Regions from separate parts of the Homo sapiens genome. Here region 2 is linked to region 1. The links are contacts of gene promoters, found by promoter capture Hi-C in human tissues and cell types (Jung and others, 2019). All regions are on one chromosome and are shown on one strand. Each heading gives the region's core, a stretch centred on a gene start or on the middle of the fragment in contact. The rest is flanking DNA. Distances are from core to core; before and after follow the strand shown. Region 1 holds the start of FAM24A (family with sequence similarity 24 member A). Region 2 overlaps FAM24B (family with sequence similarity 24 member B).

The links. The method cuts DNA at HindIII sites, captures the fragments that hold promoters and counts their contacts. A contact is called where the count stands out against the background at its distance.
Region 2: a contact is called between a fragment that was not itself captured here and the fragment with the promoter of FAM24A in region 1, in 1 of the 25 tissues and cell types used here (heart left ventricle).

The regions. Positions count from the first base shown.
Region 1 is chr10:122,909,310-122,912,080 of GRCh38, forward strand. It overlaps FAM24A (family with sequence similarity 24 member A), which reads left to right and starts at 1,301. Exons shown (of 3, transcript NM_001029888.3): 1 at 1,301-1,510; 2 at 2,324-2,450. The coding sequence starts at 2,326. RefSeq lists a silencer at 2,584-2,771. The HindIII fragment of the contact is 31,400 bases long and covers 1-2,771 here.
Region 2 is chr10:122,873,364-122,876,063 of GRCh38, forward strand. All of the region lies in intron 1 of FAM24B (family with sequence similarity 24 member B), which reads right to left. The region is part of intron 1 of FAM24B-CUZD1 (FAM24B-CUZD1 readthrough); the gene reads right to left. Among named protein-coding and RNA genes, the nearest start is that of FAM24B, 4.9 kb to the right of the region's middle. RefSeq lists an enhancer at 2,427-2,700. The HindIII fragment of the contact is 4,775 bases long and covers 1-2,700 here.

The DNA of each region.
Region 1 (2,771 bases), core at 51-2,550:
ATCAATTCATTGTCTCTTCTCATTCGGGCGTGACTTTTCTGGTTATTGGTATTACGGGCGATAATACCCGTAATACCATTTTCATTGAATCATGGACATTTTGACTTTATGCTAGGAGACTCTAGGTCCTATTTAAATATTTTATTTTATTAGTTAGTCACTGACTAGGTTTAGCATGCAGATCCTGGCTTACTTTTGTGGGATTAGATTCCAATTCCAATTTAATTTTCAGAGGTTTCGTGGTGATATTTTGGTCTACTTCATTTATCTGGTGTCACTGGGGCTTCTAGGTCCCCGAAAGTGCTGCCTGAGGGACAGAAGGAGGGTCCCCAAGCTGGAGCCACCTGGAGTCCAGGGGGGTCTCTAGCACATGGGAACAGAGTGCTTCCTGGGCTAGGTCACTGAATGTGGTCAGATCCCTGCAGGGTCTGAGGAGGGGAGTCTCATGACTAGCAAGGAAGATGAGCACTTCCCCTGCAGGCTTATTGCCAATGGGGTTCACAATCCACCCAACTTGCCACTGCTGCTGGGAAAGCCTGGGGTTGTCAGCAGGACTCACATTAAATCCGGGAATGGAATAAGCTAGATTGAGCATTGGAAAACACCAGGCCTGTCTACCTCCCCTGTTCTACTGCTATGGAGCTTACCCAGGCCTGGGGTCCCTAGTAGTTTGCTTTCTCCTTTCCAATTTCAGAGTTCTCCTTTGTTTGATTTGTGTTATTTCCAGGAATAATAGTTATGCTTAGCAGGGAGAAACATGTCTACACAATCTTCCTTGAACCTGGTGTCTCTTCATTTAATTTTACTACACTGGCTGGATATAAGTACCTTAAAATCATACAAACCAGACTAGAACAGATATCCTGTTCAACTTTCATTTTTGTACTTTTTTTAACTATAAAGCATTAAAATCTTCCCATGTCAATGGAAGTGTGCTTGAATCCTAGTAAACGGCTCCATATTATTTCATTGTGCAACTAAAATCTAAAGTCTAACCAGTCTTCTATAATTGAAATTTAAATGTGAGGTTATTTTACCCTTCCCACATTTCTTTTTCTTTTATTTGCTAAATTGAAATCTCAAACTTGATTTTGATTAGCAGTCAAACTCCAAAAATTAATGGAAGGGAAATAAGACCTGAAAAGGTGAAAGACTTAGAATTAAGTGATTCAAAATAGTATTTATATTTCACAAAAGCAAAAATATACCTATGGAATAGAATTCAGAACTCCATGAAAGACAGCTGGTGTCCCGAGAGCTGATGTCACACAGCCTGTGGCATGAATGTCAGAATAGGCCCATTCTACCAGCTCTGGCTGAGCCTGAGCTTCCAAAAGTGAGCTGAGCTGTTCAACCTTGGATCTTAATTACTCCTAGCAGGGATAATTAGGTCCCTCTTTCTCAGATTACAGGTTTGAGAAGTTCCAAATATCCGATGCCCTAGAGGTTTTTTTCCCTTAATTTTATTGTTACAATTGGCCTTCATCTAGCTCTGGATGGTTGAACTGTAGTAAGTATGCTTAGCTATCAGATTGGTTATTCTTCTCTCCTGGCTCACTGTTCCTCAGTTTCACAGTGTTAGATTAAGCAAATTACTTATTCCAAACAAATTGGGTTTCCTGGGAGAATTTAGTATTTACTAGGAAAAATGGCAGAGGTAGGCCTATGGTCTACTAGGAAGACAGAATGAGGGACAGGGGCTCCTGAATAAGCTGGCTCCTGGTCTCTGCAGACCACGTCCCATTTCTGAGCCCTGGCAAAGGTTTGGCTGGAAGTGTCAGGAATCTCCTTAAACCCTGAGATAACCCAGTTGTTGGTGGGAAAATTGAAAACTGTTTTTCCCAAAATACTTATCACTTACAAAATAGATTTTCATATTCTCAGTATTGTTGGACAATACTTTTTAAACTAATTCTCTTAGTTTCATAAAATAATTTTAAACCTAATATACAGTGAGGGGTGACTTCTGACCCTCTGAGTGAACATATTTCAGGGCCCAGGTGGTGGGGAGTGAAGTCATCAGCTCCAAGGCAGGCCTGTGGTCATTTCCAGCTGCACATCATGCCTGTGAGAGGGAAAGATTCTTCCCACTGTCTGTCATTATGATTTCCTTCCCTCTGGAGTTTGCATTTAAGTCCATTTTTACCCATAAATAAGTCCTTTTGTCTGCCCCTGGACCAGCTTAGGATCCTAGGACTCTCTGGAAAGATTTGCTTGCAGTTTACATGTGTCTGGGGTTCACTCTTCCTCTACTAACGGAAGGTTGTTTAGTGGCTGTGTGGGGAGGAAGGCCACGTTCTGCTTCCCTGCACTTTCTCCTTAGGCATGGCAAAGATGTTTGATCTCAGGACGAAGATCATGATCGGCATCGGAAGCAGCTTACTGGTTGCCGCGATGGTGCTCCTAAGTGTTGTGTTCTGTCTTTACTTCAAAGTAGCTAAGGCACTAAAGTGAGTCATGTGGGGGAAAATGAATTACACCTCCTCAAATGGGATACCTGGACTCCCTATTTGAGCAAGGTCATTCCTTTCTGCTGTGGCCATACCCCTGAGTGAGTGAGGACAAGAACAAGAAGCAGTTTTGAAAAGGCAGAAATGGCAGCTGAGTGTAAAATCTTTTACCCTTCTGCCGGGGGTTTGTAGAATGTTCTCAGTTTAAGGCTGTGAGTGTCAGTGGTGCTTGGCTGTCACTGGACCTCAATGAGTTTACCATCAGGTGTTTAATTCAGCACCTTGGCCAAGCCTCCCTTTGTTCAGCACCTTGGCCAGTGC
Region 2 (2,700 bases), core at 93-2,592, 36 kb before region 1:
ACAACAAAACCAGGATGACAACACATTGGTTTACTGAATATTTTAAGCTCCCTGCTGTGACCTCCTGCTCAGAAAAAAGTTCCTTTCAATACATTAGTGCTAACTGATGCTTGGCCAGGGCCACCCAAGAGCTCGGATGGTGATGTACAAGGAGATTAATGTTTTCATGTCTACCAACACAACATCCATTCCGCAGCCCATGGATCAAGGAGTAATTTCAACTTTCAAGTCTTATTGTATAAGAAATACATTTCATAAGGCTTTAGTAGCCATAGATAGCAATTTCTCACAGTATCTCTTAGGTGTGCCTATATATTGCTCTTCTTTCTCTAGTTTCTTAAGGTGAAAGCTTACATAATAGATTTTAGATCATTCTTTTCCAACATGTACTCAGTACTCTCCGTTTCCCTGTAAGCACTGCTCTTGTTGAATTCTACAAATTCTGATGAATTGTATTTTCACTTTCATTTAGTTTGAAATATTTTTAAATTTCTCTTGAAACTTCGAGCCAAGTGTTATTTTAGAAATATGTCTGTTAATCTCCAAATATTTTAGGATTTTTCAAGTATTTTCCTGTTACAAATTTCTAATTAAATACCATTGTGATCTAGGAACATACTTTGTATAATTTCTATTCTTTTACATTTGTTAAGGGGTGTTTTATGGCCTAGAATGTGCTCTATCTTGGTAAATGTTCTAGGAGTGTTTCAGAAAAATGTGTATTCTGCTATTGTTGACGTGTCCTATTAATACCAATTAGATCCAGTGGACAGATGGTACAATTCAGTTCAACTATATTCTTACTGATTTTCTGCATGCTGAAACTGTCAATTACTGATCCAGGGTTGTTGAAGTCTCCAAGAGTAATAGTGAATTTGTCTATTTCTCTTTGCAGTTCTATCAATTTTTGCTTCACATATTTGATGCTCTGTTGTTAGGTACATATACATTAAGGATTTTATTTTGCCTTCATTTATTCCTTCTCTGATGCTCTTCCTTTATATAGATCCAAGTTCATGACCTTGGATCATTTTCCTTCCCTCTGGAGAACTTATTTTAATATTTTTTGCAACACAGGTTTATCACTGACAAATTTCCTTAGCTTTTGTTTAAGAAAATCTTTAAGTCTCCTTCACTTCTGAAAGGTAATTCTTGTGGATACATTCTAGGTTGGTGTGATTTCTCTTTCAACATTGTAAATATTTCACTCCAGTCCCTTCTTGCTTGGTTTCTAATCAGAAATATAATTCTTTTCTTGTTCCTCTATAGCATGTATTTTTTCCTCTGGCTCCTTTCAATGACTCTTTGACTTTGGTTTTCCCATCTTGAATATAATATGCCTAGGTACAGACTAAGCTTGTCCAACCTACAGCCTGCGGGCTGTATACGGCCCTGGACGGCTTTGAATGCAACCCAACACAAATTTGTAAACTTTCTTAAAACAGCATGAGGTTTTTTTTGCAATTTTTAAGCTCATCAGCCATTGTTAGCGTTACTGCATTTTATGTGTGGCCCAAGACAATTCTTCTTTTCCCAGGGTAGCCCAGGGGCACCCCTGGTACAGACCTTTTAGTATTTATCTTGCTTGGTGTTCTCCAAGCTTCCTGCTCTAAGAACGGGTTTGGTGTCATTAATTTTGGATAATTCCCAACCATTATTTCTCACATATTTCTTCTACTCTCTTCTCTTTCTTCTACTTCTGGTATTACCATTATACATGTTATTACAAGTTTTATAACTGTCCAGCAGTTCTTGGATAGTCTACTTTTTCATCTCTATTTTCTTTGCTTTTCAGTTTTTATTAACAGTTCTTCAAGCTCATTTATTCTTTGGCCTGTCCAGTCTCCTGATAAACCCATCAAAGGCATTCATTTGTCACATTGTTTTTTGACTTCTATCATTTCCTTTTATATCTTCCTTAGAGTTTCCATATCTCTGCTTACATTACCCATTCACTCTTGTATGCTATCTGCTTTTTCCATTAGAGCCCTTATATATCAATCATAGCTACCTTAAATTCCCTACTTGAGAATTACAAAATCTGCATCATATGTAAGAATGGTTCTGATATTTCCTTTGTTTCTTGTTCTTTCTTGCCTTTTACCGTGCTTTGTAAATCTTTGTTGAAAGCCAGACATAATATATCTGGAAGAATATATAGAAACTGAGGTAATCAGGCTACTTGATTCATGTCAATCTGACTAGAAGTTAGGCTGTGTTTAATGTTTGCTGTAGTTATCAGTGTCAGAGGCTTCAATCTACTATTCTTGCTTTGAGTTTCCACATTGTCATTGTCTTTGGGTATCCCCAGAGACTCCTTTTAAATAAAATGTAGTCTGATAATAATTGGTCACAGCTGGCACTAGGGAAAGGCAGTCTCCTAATTAAAAAAAAAAACCCTGAAACTGGTGATCAACGGCTTGCCGATAAGATCTCAGGAGTTGGACAAGTGGGTTCAAGCATGTGCACTAAGAGGCAAAATGGCAGAGTTTAACTGGTATATGACCTTCTAAGAACATTTGATGGGTAAGAGAAGAATGCTTCAAGTGAGCATGCATACAACTCCAGTAAACACACTATGCATACAGCCCCGCCCTAGTGCTGGCACGCCACTGAGCATGCAGACAGCCCACCCTGAGGGAAGAATTAGCAAGAAATAATGCAACCCTGGAAGCATGTCAACATGTAAGACCCAAAATC